2 separate regions of the Homo sapiens genome follow, and region 2 is linked to region 1. The links are contacts of gene promoters, found by promoter capture Hi-C in human tissues and cell types (Jung and others, 2019). All regions are on one chromosome and are shown on one strand. Each heading gives the region's core, a stretch centred on a gene start or on the middle of the fragment in contact. The rest is flanking DNA. Distances are from core to core; before and after follow the strand shown. Region 1 holds the start of GYPC (glycophorin C (Gerbich blood group)). Region 2 has its middle 240 kb from the start of LINC01889.

Region 1 (7,418 bases), core at 1,251-3,750:
AGGTGTCTTTCTCCTATTTTTAACTCTTCATTCACTGTTAACTTTACTGTTTGTTTGGTTTTGTATTTAGAGCGTGCTTGTTGGCCCACTGGGTATGCTCAGTTACTGGAAGATGTTTTGGCTGTGGCCTCAGACAGGCACTTGAGGCATAGATGTACATACAGGTCTGCCACCTGAAGAGGCAAACTGACTTGACTTGGCCCAACCTCTCACCTCTGTTGAGGGGACCTCTTCCTACTCACTGCAGATGGGTTCACTTGTTCCCACCACAAGCGCAGAATGCCTTGTACTTCACAACCCTTTGCTCCCCAGGGAGCTCTGCAAGTCCCCAGAAATACTTGCCCAACCACGGGCACCCTTGGAAGGGTCCAGCTGCTGACCACCAGCATCATGTGACTCCCAGTGCCAGTGACATCTGGAGGAATTGAGCAATGGCTGAGGTGGAATTTCATTTGGCACTTAATGCAATCCTCTGCTTCTGCCAGAGGCGGTGAATTCTATATAAAGCTGCCAAACCTGGCCGTCTTCTCACTGAGCCTTGACCCCTTCCATCCAAGGGCAAGGCAATGGATTGCTGTGCATGACTCACGCGCAGTAACTGTGGCATTGGGGCCTAGCCCAGCTGAGCTGAGCAGAGCAGGCCGGCCTGGCGGAAGTGGGTCCTCTCCGCTCTAACCTCTGGCTCTGATGAGCAGCTACATAAACTGAGACAGGATATAGACACATCCTGCCTGAGTTAGCAGCAAGAAATAGCCGCCCCCCACCCCCCCTGCAGTTCTCGCACAGCAGGGATCCTGCCATAAATCAATCCGAAGTCTAATGTGGAATGGCTTGCAAGCAAGGGCTGCACCGCTGTTTGTCTCCCAAGGCAAGTGTTGAAGGTCTGAAACCTGAGTCCTGGAGAACTGCTTGGGCTGCTGGGCTGGGCTGGGCACGGGGGCGGGGGTCAGGCAAGCCCATCCTCTTCAGACATGAGAATGCCTCTCAGCCTCACCTCCTCAGTGACTGAATTGGAATAATGACAGTGGCTCCTGTCCCTTTAACCCAGGACCTGCCGTATACACACACATAAACATATGCTCAAGTTACGTGCTCCGGGAACCACAGTCTCATGTGCAATTATATAAACATGCCCAGCACGGATCCAGCACTTAGGATGTGTCAGACTCCGTGCCGGGACATTTATACGCACTTCGTGCTGCTGGATGAGTTATCTCCTGTTATTATTCCTACTTTCCTACTTTGCAGATGAGGAAACTGGAGCTAAGAGAGGCTGCCTTGTTTATAGGCAGTGCAGATGATCCCAGTGCAGACTGAGGGGCCTCGCTCCCAAGCACCACTGATGCCTGCGCACTCCCAGGCTGACGCAAGCACAACCACAGGCACATGGAGTGCCGTGTACACACGTAGACCGAAGCAGCACTCCTCCACGCCAAGCTCCAAGCTCAGGCGGGGTGAGGGGTGAGGCCTCACAACCCCCTGGATTTCAAAGACTTATAAAAGAGTTGGTGTCTCCAATACCCATATCATTATCATATCAATAAGGTATCATTGTCACATGATAGGCTCAGGGTATCTCCTCTCTGACAGACTCTAAGAATCAGACCGCGGCAGGGTGGGGGTAAGAGGGATGTACATTACGTTTTTTGGTAAAATCAAATGGTAGTTTTTATTGCAAAAGTCCAACGGCAGAGGAAGAGGGCAGAGAGAGGCCCAGCAATGTTTCCAAGCATCTACAAAGACTTTCATCACAGATGATTTCCTCTCAGCAAGAAAACGTGATGGTTTAAAAGAGAAAACCAGCAGCGAGGAATTACAAATCCCCAAAGGATCCAGGCCGCAGGATTCCCTCGCATCTGTGTGCCTTTGCGGCGCCCAGCGGAGCGAGCAAGTCCCTGGGCAAGGCTGGAGTTGCCTGGAGTTCACCGGAGCCTGGCCGGTCGGACCCTGGCTGGGGAGCAGCACAGAAGCAACTTGTGATGTGAACTCTCACCTAACTGTTCTTTAGGGAGACAATTCTGGCCCCACACATTTCACATGCCCCGCACAAAGAAACAGAAAGCGGGCGACACGCCCTGGGAGGGCGGGCTGGCGGCTTCTCCAGCTCGGAGCGCGTGGAGGCTGCGCGTAGGGGTCCGGGACGCGGGACAGGGACTCCGCGCAGCCCAGGCGCCGGGGAACCGGGGCTGGAGTCGGGGATCTGAGCCCAGCGGACGCCTCCTCCGCCTGGAGGCCCGGCACGGACCGGGACACCAGGGCGTCCGTGGCCGTGGCTCGGCCCCTGGCTGCTGCGGGCCGCGGCCTCCAGTGGGTCCCCAGGACCCTTCCCCACGGCGGGTACTCACCGAGGCTGAGAGGCCACGCCGTGCTGTTGGGGCTTCTCGTCGACCACATTCCTGGGCGTCAGCCCGGGCAGAGACCGCGGGGACTGGCCAGGCCGGGCCAGGCCGGGCCGGGGGAGGGTCGCGCTCCCGGGCTCCTGACCCTCGGCGGCGAGAGGAAGCGGCACCTGGGTCACACTCCTCCCGCGCGGGCCGAGGGGAGGGGCTCTGGCCCGGAGATAGGCAGACTTCATTTATTTTTTTTCTGCAGACTTGGCTGGTGGGGTTTCCACCCCCTTTTTTTTTTTTAAACACACACCCGCCCACTTCTGAACTCTTCTTTGCTCCAACTTTCCTGCGCAAGAACCACGCTTTTCTAACCGTTTCTCTTTCCATCTGCCACTACCGGATACAGAGGTTGTGGTTGAGAATTCCCCCTGGAGTGCAGGGAAAACTCCCCAATGTGACATGATGGCCTGGCCCAGCACTGTCGGGGATGGTGACCAAATAGGGCAGACCTGTGTTGAAATCTTGGCTGGCTGCGCGGCCGCTGGATAGCTGGGCGGCCTCTCTCAGCTGCGGGGCATTTGTCCCTGGAGAGAGTCCCTGTCTTGTTGGCCTTTGGGGGCCCTGTACTCATGGATGGGCTGTTGAGCAAAGATCATTCCAAAACAGGAAGAATTGCTGGACAAGAGTCGTGATTTGTTCCCATTGCTTTTGTCTGAAGCTGCCAGACACAGTGCAGTTTGTGAATTCGCTCTACTTTTGCCATGAAAATCTCCACGTGGATTTCGATACATACCTTTGTTGGTTAAATGCAGTCAAATGGCACCACCTACAAAAAATGTATCATAGCATTATCTGCCCCTTCTGCCCAGAGACAAGGGCAGGGAACTTGAGGCCCTTGTTTTAAATCCCCACCCAGGGGAACACCCTGTGCTTCTCCTGTGTGATGTCTGAACCTTCCTGTGCTGCTTTTCATTGTTTACTTTATAGTTCCCCAAGCACTTTTGTGACGCCCACCTCTCCCCTACCTTCTGCCATTAAGGCCTATCCTGCACAATCCGGAGAGCCAGGCCAGCTGTCTGTACAATGTATGGGCGGTGCCTTTGGGACTGTCATCTGCATTGAATACAATGAGAGGCTGCGCCCTGGAGATTTGCAACACAGAGGCTTTGCTCACCTCTAGCCGGGCTGCACAAACTCCAGGCCTTCTTGACGCAGTGGGAAAGCACTCATGATTCACTTTAGTTAGATCATGAAGAACCCCCGATGCTGATAGATCTTTACTCCAACTGCCATGTGCAGCACAGCCATGTTGAATTGAAATAAACTACTCACAGAATGCCTTTGGCCTGGTGGGGAAGCCCTGAGTCTTGATTTCCTCATCTATAAAATGGAGGCAAGAACACCTGCATTCCGGGGTTTTACAGAGGCAGTGATTGTAGAATCACAGTGGGAACAGAAAAGGCATTTAATAAACAGCAATGAGTAATGATTAATTTATTTTTATTTATTTATTTATTTATTTTTCTGAGACGGAGTTTTTGCTCTTGTTGCCCAGGCTGGAGTCCAACGGCGTGATCTCGGCTCACCACAACCTCCGCCTCCTGGGTTCAAGCAATTCTCCTGCCTCAACCTCTCGAGTAGCTGGGATTACCAGCATGTGCCTCCACGCCTGGCTAATTTTGTATTTTTAGTAGAGACGGGGTTTCTCCATGTTGGTCAGGCTGGTCTCGAACTCCCGACCTCAGGTGATCCACCCACCTTGGCCTTCCAAAGTGCTGGGATTACAGGCGTGAGCCACTGCACCCGTGATTACTTTAACAGTTTAACTTTTTTTTTTGGTAATACATACACATACGTCTACGTGGAACAGTAGTCCCGCTCCTCTGTCCTGAGAGAAAATAACTTTAATTATCTGAAATGCAGCTGGAAAGTTGGAAAGAAGCAGAAAGTTCTGCCAGGTAACAACGGACAAGTCATTAGGTCATTGCAGCACACTTAGAGAAGTCACTTTTACAGACTCATTTAGAACCTACTGGCCTTAGACGTAATCATAAGAGATTTCCTTAATTTCTTAGGGTAAGACAGGTTGAAGGCATCAAAATGTTGCAGAGAATTCCTTACAGAAAATAAGCCAAAAATTAATAAACTAACGAACTAAACAGTGAAAATTGAAAGCCCCACAAACTGCAGAGGTCAGATACAAGAACGAAGTAGCATTTGTTACAGAACTAAAGCAATCTCAGCTCCAGCCATCACTGGAGGATGTGACAGTTCCTTGCGCTATTAAAGACCACAGGGCTTTGGAACTCAATCTGGGTTAGTTACTCTACTGCCTACTAGCTGCGTAACCTTCAGCATTTCACTTTCTTTCTCTGAGCCTCATTTTTCTCAGCCTGGAAATTGGAGCAATCTGCAAAGTTAGGCTGTTGTGAGTAATATATTCGATAATAATTAAAGAGGTAATTACAATGAGAGTACACTGGAGTTACTTAAAGATATTGGCCCCCTTCCTCCTCTAACACATACTTTGTTCATAGTAAGGACCCCAAGTCATTTGAAAAAGAAAGTAAATAGTGTGTCTTAGTGTGTAGCAAATTAGCTAACAGGGAAACATTTGACATATTTTAGAAAATTTAACTATGAAAGTGTCTAATGTTAAATAAATGACTCTTAAGAAGGGAAAATAATTATGTGAAAAATTTAATTATATGGTAACAGTCTGACATAAGTCAAGAAATGTATTATTAGTGTGTCTTCATGTGTTGGATATTTATTAATGAAGTTAAAAAAAAAACTCAGCTATATCTTGCAATAATAAACCAGTTCTTATCTTGTCTAGTTCCCATAAATACTCTTAAACGGAGTATTGCCAAGAGTCCATTGTAAAGATGAGAACCCAGAAGTTCAGCACAGTGACAAGAACTTGCTCTGCAGTGCAGCCGGGATGGACGGTTCTAGCTGTGTCTTCATTGACTGTCTGTGGCTGATACAAGCTGCAGAGCCCTCCAAGATGTGAGATGGTATGATCCAGTCCTGGAGATGAATTTTCTCTTCCTCTTCAGGGAAGAAACTGCTCATGGGAAACTGCCTTCCAAATCCTCAGTGCTAGTTCCTTATTGGGAGTGGAGTTGGCGGTCCCCTGCTGCTGTTGCTGTCTCCTGGGTGAGCCCTTACAGATGGTGGTAGGTAGATGTTGCTTGGGCCTTTAATGAAAGGTTTTGCCCCTCATCACAGTAACACATGCTCTTTGTGCAAAAAGAAAAAATAAAAAAGAAAAAGCCAAAAAGATACCTAAACCCTAAGAATTGCTTGCAATCTCCAGCACATTAAGGTTATTTACCTTTAGTCTTTTTTATGCATTTACGAATATTTGCTTTATACTCTTGAGATTTTACTGAATACGTGATTTCAAGTGCTGAGCTTTTACTACTAAACATTATGTCATGAGCATTTTCTCATGTAAAAGTAGAAAAGCTCTTTAACTCATTTTAATTACTAGGTTGTTTCATTTTCTTTGCTGGTTGAATAGTGCTGTGATAACCATATGAACATAAATATCTGGATTTCATAATTTTTTCCTTAGGGTATATTCTGACAAGCAGAATTACTCAATCAAAGGTTACAAATGCATTTAAAGCTTTTGATACATTCATAAGTTCTGGCTGTGACCTTTACTTTCTTCCCAATCAAGAGTACCAGTGTTTATCTCAGAGTCTCTTGCCAGAATTAAACAGCAAACTTAAAATCATAGTTAATTCCATAGAAAAGAAACATACATAGTTATTTGTGTCAGCATTTTCTTTGATTACCAGAGAGGCCGAATATGCTGTCAGTTGCTTATTTACAAATCACAGCTTCTTTTAGGTGAATATTTTGTTCACACTGTTTCCTCATTTGGAGGTGTGATGGTTAATACTGAGTGTCAACTTGATTGGATTGAAGGATACAAAGTATTAATCCTGGGTATGTCTATGAGAGTGTTGCCAAAAGAGATTAACATTTGGGTCAGTGGGCTGGGGAAGGCAGATCCACCCTTAATCTAGTGGGCACCATCTAACCAGCTTCCAGGGAATATAGAGCAGGCAGAAAAACATGAAAAGGAGGGATGGGTCTGGCCTCCCAGCCTACATCTTTCACCCGTGCTGGATGCTTTCTGCCCTGGAACATCAGACTCCAAGTTCTTCAGTTTTGGGATTTGGACTGGCTCTCCTTGCTCCTCAGCTTGCAGACAGCCTATTGTGGGACCTTGTGATCATGTAAGCTAATGCTTAATAAGCTCCACACTATATATATATATACAGATCCTATTAGTTCTGTCCCTCTAAGAGAACCTTGACTAACACAGATATTCGTACCAGGAGTGGTTCTAGAGGAACAGAATATGAAGGATGGAGTTCCTTCATTTGTTTTGGGGTTTCTGGAGTTGGCTGCTTAAGATGATTAGACCCCAAAATGCTAAGGAATCTACTTCTAATAGTATGGAGAACACTGATAGTCCTTGGCATGAACTGTTTAGAGAGTTATGCAAAATAAATGCATTTGACACTCCTGATTCTTCACTCGTGAGAGGCCAGTAGTTTAGTAACCCTATACATAATGCCTTTGACCATATGTGGAGAAACAAGGAACATATTGAAGCTGGTTGGTTGCCCCTAAGTTCGGGGACAAAGTGATGAAAAAAATGATGAACTCAGGGATTCTGTCTCCCGGCTTCAGAAGCAGATACTGAGCCTCAAATCTGCTAAGACTGCCCTGAGCGAAAGTCTGAACTTCTATAGAGAAAGAGCTGAAATTGTGGAAAAACAGACACAAGTTCTTATACTAGTGGCTGACCTGCAATGAAAGATGCATGCACAGCCTCACCAGGTGTCTACTGTTAGAATGAGGGCATTGATTGGAAAAGAATGGGACCCTGCAACTTGGAATGGGGACATGTGGGAGGACCCTGATGAAGCTGGGGACACTGAGTTAATAAACTCTGATGAACATTTTTGGCCAGAAGTAACAGCTTCCCCATCCCCAGTAGTGGCAACGTCCTCTCCCCCACCCATGCTGCTATCAGCCTTTCCACCTTTGTCTGAAGAGATA
Region 2 (7,418 bases), core at 2,210-4,709, 1.2 Mb after region 1:
TGTAACTTTACTGCATTTCCGTAACCCTCTAAGACATCATAGCCTTTTTCAGGGATCTGCCTGTTAAAAGAATGTAGAAAGGAGGGAGGGAGGGAAGTGACTATCCATTTATTCATTCCCTTATTTAAAAACACGTATTAAATGAATAATACAGGTTAGCAGGTCAATTTTTAGAAAACATTAACAGTAAAGCCAAATAAACCTTGGTAACCTATTGTCTACAAAAGTCAAATGTCTTGTCAAGGAACGGGATGAGCATCAAATTCAGAACACTGGGTACCTCTGTCTCCATCTTGTCTCACAGATGCTGTACCATCCAGCCCGTGACACTAAGCATCTCTCCAACTGTCTCATCCCAATGCTCTGCTCTGTGCCTGTAAGCAGTAGCCTCTGCTATTTTACTGTGCTTCTCTGCCCACAGTACCTGGAAAACAGTTCACCCTAAATGTCAGCAATAATGTCATCTCCTCTGTGGAAAACAATAACAACAACATTTTTTCTAGTACAAGATATTTTCTTTTTCATAACGTTCATAAATCTCTTCTCATTCAAATAATTATATGGTCATGGCAGATTGAATTCTTGATGTTAATTCTTTCCTCTCTTGTAGTAATGTACATTTATAGCCTTCCCACAATGGGTGCTGTGTGTTTCCCAGCCCTTAGCCCACGTGACTTGCTTTTTCCAATAGGATGTTAACAAGATTTGACATAATTGGCATCTTGAAATGTGCTGTGTGGTGGGGCCTGTCCTCTTGTGCTCTGTCCTAACCATGAGCTGACATACCCTGTCAGCTGTGTAGCTGCTGTGCCTTCATCCCAGTTCTCAGAACTAGACACGTCAAGCCTACTCTAGCCTGACCTGCAGTCCAGAGACAAGCATGGCTGAATCCAGCCCAAACTAGCTAAACTCCAACTAATTCACACACTGAGGAGAGAAAAAAGTAAATGTATGTGTAGTAATTTTTTGATAGTTTGAGATTGTATTTATTGAATCGGAATTACTGTGGCAACACCTAACTGATAAAATGCCCTTTATTGATTGGGAGTTCAAGGTCAGTACCTTATTTGCCCATGTATTAATAAAGGTTTACTGATTGAATTAAAAAATAAATATGCTCTTATTGTGACAGATTTAAAAGGTCGGGAATAAGTGTTAAGGCTTCAAGAATCTTGGTGTTCAGGTAGGACAGGCAAGACAAATATATAAATAGCTAAGCTAAGAAGAATAATGTGATGTCATGTGTCATGAGACAGCTCTCAGAGAAGTTTTGTAACTGGGACCAAGACAGTACTACCTTTCGAGGAAAGAAAAAGGAAGTTTTCATGATTGTATGAGAACAGTCATACAAGTGCAAAGTGGAGATTTGAAGGTACACAGAATTTTAGTAGTCAGAAATAAAGGGGAATTAGTAAAGAAATGCAAACAGGCATTCTGGAAAAATAGACAGGGTCCTATAGACAGGTACCTGAAGAAGCTCAAGGATAGGAACCATGAGAATTTCACTTGTGCTAGTGTGTAGAAAAAAGAAAAGTTACTATCATGAAACAGGGATGGAAAAGTTTATTGGCAATCACAGAATCTTTAAATTTATACCAAGAAATTTTTATTTTCTTCATTAGGAAATGGGGAGCTTTCGGACAGTTTTCTGGGTGGCCTTGGACCAACCAAGTTTTCCACCCTTTCTCACTTGTAATTCTCAAGGATAACTGCAGAATGTGCTGATATTGTAATGTTCTGAGATAGAGAGTGACTGACTGGAACAGCCCAGGCCCTGCTCTTGTCACTGTAGAAACAGAACATACTGCAACACTTTAGCCCAGTGGTCATCTTTTCCTCAGGGTATAAAACCCAGGGCGGGCTGCTTTTCAGCGTCCCTCAGCTGTGGTGCAGGTGGGGGCAGAGGCAGACAAGACTCCATCCATCCTGGGCAGTTTCCAGAGCCATGGAGAACAGGTTCTCCATGAATCCTAGGCTTCTGCTGTCTTTTGCTGCCTACCTGGGAGTGATAAAGCTGCTTCGTTTAACTTGTTGTGTGAGGGTTCAGTCTCAATGGTCTCATGCAAGTAGTAGAGATTGCAGCCCAAGAGGCAGCAGGCTGAAGTGGTGATCTTGCTTTGCATGAGCCATGGCAGGCCTTGCAGGACTTATATTGCAGGTTTCTGAAAGGCAAGTTAACTCATTCATTATGTATTAAGATAAAAGAGTTTTATGCATGACACATTACTTTAGGCTAAAATGCTGTGTAGCAAGTAGAACAAAAATACAAGTTCAAAAAGATAAAAATATATACAATTTCTAAGTATTAAAGAAGAGCTTATTCACATTTATTTTAAATGAATAGTTATGAATAGCAAATTGTTATAGTGTTTAGAGTCTATTGGATGCATTTTAAGAAGCAATACAACAGTTTTATTACAAAAATGTCAACTTTTACAGGGTTGGATGTTATATCCATACAACTAATTAAACTGAAGTAGAAACATTTTAGATGCAAACTTTAAATGTGTAAGAAAGTACAGCACTTATCAAAATTTTAAGAGGGAGTAGAACAAAAAGATTTGAATATCACTCTTGTCTCGATTCACAAAGCGATAAAATTACAAGAAAAATTTTCCTTGTCTTATAAATTTTGGAAATGCTATCTGAACAATCCACCGCATTTTCCAATGTACATTAGCCTTTTTAAGGTTGTGGAAGTCACTATATTTATTTGATCACTAAATTTCTCCTCACTTTCTTTTCAGATTATATTTATTTATATATAGTACAGGTGGTTTTCTGGAAACACAACCCAGGAAAACACTTTAGTAGTGTATGAGCCAAAAATTACTTAATTTGGCTACTTTCTATATATGGATGAAAACTGCCTTGGTAATTTGAGGAGAAAATAAATCTCTCTGGCTACTGTCATTCTTAACAATTAATTACAATCCTAGAAATATTGGTTAATAGAATTCTGGAATTTTGAAAGTCTAGTAAAGTTGGGTTCTATTAAATGGAAACAGAGAAGCCACATGATTTCGAGTCCAACATTAAGGTTAATTTGATAACTAAGCAGGATGCAAAGGATAATGATTGAGGTAAGGAGGCAGGACAAAGTTCCTGCAAATAAATCGGTTGAGAGATAATGGTTTGAGATAAAAAATGGTTTGGGAGGAGAAACTAACAATTAAGAATGTTGTTTGGGTCACTAGTATTTGTAAATGTATTATATAATTTTTTTTCCAGCTGGCTTGTAATATTCTTAAGAGCTGAGATAATTTTGTTTCCCTATAGCACAAGCCTTCAGTTGTTGGGTAACAAAAATATTTTCTAGTTGATAGTGCTGACATTTAATTTCAGAACTATTTCTATAATGAAGGATATATAAATTATATATGCATGGTTAAATATTAAATATTGTCTCAAACTATTTCTTGAAGTTTTATTTTTAAAAAAATAGAACCACAGAAATATATAGATGTGAAAAATTATCAGTAAGATAACAAGATACACAAATTAAGAGGAAATAAAGAAAGTTGAGGGAACATAAGAACATTTAATAAAATCTAACTAATGCTTTTGTAAATATTCAAGAAGATACTGTATATATTCAGTTAAAATTTTAAAAAGTAACTATTAAAAATCAACAGAGAATGAGAAAGAGGTTTAGGAATGAACACCATGACTACTTAACATTAAAAATTTGTGTAGGTTCATGTGACAACAAACCCCTATCTTCTATCTTCTATGAGACTTTGTTCTACCAGTGACGATACCTCTTTCAATTCTTTACTCATCCGCCCTTCTAGTTCCCACGATCCCAGCTTTACCTGTGGCATTTAGTGTTATACACACATCTCACTTGATTTTTTGATCCTCCTACCTTTTGTAAAGTAGCATTCTGTTAGACTTTTTTTCTATGTCCTTAATTTCTCATTTTCTTTCTCCTCTAATATTCCAACCTTACTTTTTCTACCCAACCATGAACATTAACATTGTCCACCTTCATGTTCCAGTGTCTCCCATTTTAATTATATTTTTCCTCTTTTCTGCAGTCAGGGTGTACTAACTCTTCAGACTCTATCAACATTCGGTCCACAGGGAGCTTGATGGCTTTTCCCTTCCACAAGACATTGTGCCGACCCATCATGTTGATGATGACATGCTGATTGAACCTGGTGAGCAGTAGCAGGTAGTCTAGACATATTGGTAAGATATTTATTTACTTACCTGTCAGAAGGTGGAGAATAAATGCCATAAAAACCTAGGGGCCTTCCATCACAGTGAAATTTCTGAGGATACAGTGGTTTGGGATATGTCAAGATATTTGTTCTATGTTGAAGGATAAGTTGTTGCTTCTGGCCTCTCCTACAACCAAAAAACTATACAACATCTGGTGAACTATTTTGGATTTTGGAGGCAACATATTCCTCATTGGAGTGTGCTGCCATGGCCCATCTACAAATGCACCAAAAAACCTGCTAGTTTTGAATGGGGCCCTATGGAAATGTGATATAAGACAGAGATAGATAGTTTCTACTGCGGCCGTATGATCCAGAAGACTAAATAGTGCTGAAAGCATCAGGGGCAGTTAAAGATGCTGTTTGGAGCCTTTGTCAGGCCCCCACCAATAAATCAAAGTGCAGACCCTTCAGATTTTGGAGAAAAGCCTTCCATCCTTGGATAGTTATCCTGTCTGAGTGGATAACTGCTTTTCTTCTGATAGCGCTTTTGGCTTGCTACTGAGCTACTGGACACTTAGCCACGAGCCATCAAGTTACCAGATAACCTGAGCTGCCCAACATGAACTGGGTTGTCTAAGCCACTAAGCTTTAAAGTTGGGTGTGCACAGCAGCACTGCATGAGTACTCCAGCAGGCCCTGAGGCAACAATTCAGTTATGTGAGGAAGTGGCACAAACTCCTATGACCTCAGCTTATGCTACACTTTTCTCTCTCTCCCATGCTGTTAGTATGGTCTCACAACTATGGTTCCCTACAGTTAACAGAGTAAGAGAATACACGGACCTGATTTACAGATGGCCCTGCATGATGTGCAAGCGCACTCGAAAATGGTGCCTTTTTCGGGGACATTCCGAAGGGCAGTAGTGAAGGGTAATCCTCCCAGTTGGTAGAACTTTGAGCAGTGCACCTGGCTTTTTTTTTTTCCTCTCAAAAGGGAAATAGCTGGAGTTATGACTCTGATGCTGAGGAGAAGCAAAAAATAAATAAATAAAATAAAAAAATTAAAAAAGCCAAGCAATTCCAAGCTTTGGGAGCCTTGAATTGGTCCACCTAAAAGAGGCACAGAATCTGACTTTTGGAAAAGTACAGCGACACTGAGAAGGAATGTGCAGAAATGACAAAAGCAACCCTGAGAGATCCAGGCAGAGTAACAAGAATGCCTACTCCCAGTACAATTCTTATTGTATGTATTTTTTAATGGAACATAATCTATAGGACTTAATCTATTGAAAAGTACAAATGGAGCTAACTGATTTCACATAATCTCTCTGTCATACACCAAGTTCCCATACATGTGTGGATCCATTTATCTACTTGCCTTTTACTGTACCAAATGCCATACTGTTCACTGGCATAGGATTAAAAATCTGATAGCATACTTGTCAGTAATATATTCTTCACCTTTAAAATTATCTTCTCAATTCTTTAGCCTTTAATTTTTCATATGTATGCAAAAATCAACTTTTCAATTTCCATGGGCAAATGTTATCAGGGTTTTAATGGGAATAGCATTGAACTTGTAGATTAATTGACATCTTTATAACATTGAGCCTTCCTATTCATACACATTGCATATTGCTTTACTTATACAAGTCTTTTATTTTTCTCAAATTGTGTCATCTTCTCTAAGAACATCTTGTTTATACCTGGTTAGATTGGTTTCTAAAAACTTCATAGTTACAGTTTGGTTGCCATTTTAAATGGAATGTATTTTTTGCTATTACACTTTTGTTTTCTTTGTGCTCGTGTATAGAGATGTTATTTTTATATGTCATTTATATATGGCAATCCTGCCTAACACTATTAGTTCTAATAGTTTATATGTTCTAACAGATTGTTAATGTAAATAACTATATTATCTGCACATAAAGTAATGTAATTTCTTCTTTCCCATTTATATGTCTTATTTTTCTTTGTTGTCTTATTTTCTTGACTAACATTTCAAGTTCAACATCACCCTGCAGAGATAATAGGTGTCTTCTCTGTCTGACTTTAATAGGATCATTTCTAAATTTTTCTTAAATTGGTATCTTATTTGCTGTAAATTTTTAATAAATACACTTTTCAAAAGTTTAAAGTTAAATAGATTTAGGCTTTTCCTTCTATTCCCACTTTGCTAACAATAAATGTTACTGTGAATGAATGTTGACTTGTAGATTGTTGAAAATTGAATTACTTTTATGCATATATTGAAATAATTTTATAACTATTCCTCAAACGTATGTTAAGGTGGTTTTACATTAATATATTTTTAAATATTAAACTATTTTTTATTCTTTGATTAATCTTACCTGGTATTTTTATGCAATTTATATGATTATTTACTAATTTGCTATTATGGTTTAAATAAAAACTATAATTGTTCTTTTTTGACAAAACTTATCTTGAAGGATAAAAACATACAGAAGATTATACAGATTATTAGTTTATACATCTCACTGAATTTTCACCAAGAGAATAAACCCATGCAGTCATCACCTGGTTCAAAAAGCAGAATATAACCAGAACCCCAATAGCTTTTTTTGTTTTTCGTTCCATTTACTGTCCTGCTCAAGGGTAATCACAATGCTGATTTTTAACATCCTGAATTAGTTTTGCCTTTTTTAAATGTAATACAAATAGAATAATAGTGCATGTTTTATTTTATGTCTATCTTCTATTTTTCTATATTTCTAAGATTTAGTTATTGTACTTTGAAGATACAATTTGTTCACTCTTATTTTTTATGAATATATATTGAATGATTTTATTACAATTTACTCACTCTGTTTATTCTCCTATGACAGTCATTTAAATTGTATCTGCTTTTTGACCATTACTTATCTATGAATATTGCTTCTGTATTCCTATTTTCCAATTAAGGTAATGTTTGTACAGTAAGGTGCACAGATCTCGTGTATAATTCAAATGAGTTTTACAAATATATACCCCCTGTAATCAATACCCAATCCAGATATAGTACATTTCAATCACTCCTGAAAGTTCCTTTGTGTACTTCTTCAATCAATTCCCCTCCTTATGGACAGCCACTACTCTCTTATCTATCCCTATAGATCAGTGTATCTTTATTTGGACTTCTATAAATAAAATCAGAGTAGCTACTTTTTTCCTGGCTTCTTTCATTCATCATAATGCTTTGGGGTCTCATTCCTCTTGTTTAATACACAGTTGCTCATTATTTTTCCATTGT

The links. Contacts are between HindIII fragments. The study calls those that stand out against the background at their distance.
Region 2: a fragment that was not itself captured here is called in contact with the fragment with the promoter of GYPC in region 1 in 1 of the 25 tissues and cell types used here (lymphoblastoid cells).

Annotation. Positions count from the first base shown.
Region 1 is chr2:126,651,240-126,658,657 of GRCh38, reverse strand. It overlaps GYPC (glycophorin C (Gerbich blood group)), which reads right to left and starts at 2,500. Exons shown (of 4, transcript NM_002101.5): 1 at 2,346-2,500. The coding sequence starts at 2,394. RefSeq lists enhancers at 801-1,030, 1,221-1,470, 928-1,767, 2,561-2,850, a silencer at 2,101-2,470 and a cis regulatory region at 7,255-7,418. The HindIII fragment of the contact is 14,870 bases long and covers 1-7,418 here.
Region 2 is chr2:125,464,520-125,471,937 of GRCh38, reverse strand. No RefSeq gene overlaps it. Among named protein-coding and RNA genes, the nearest start is that of LINC01889, 240 kb to the left of the region's middle. The HindIII fragment of the contact is 6,757 bases long and covers 81-6,837 here.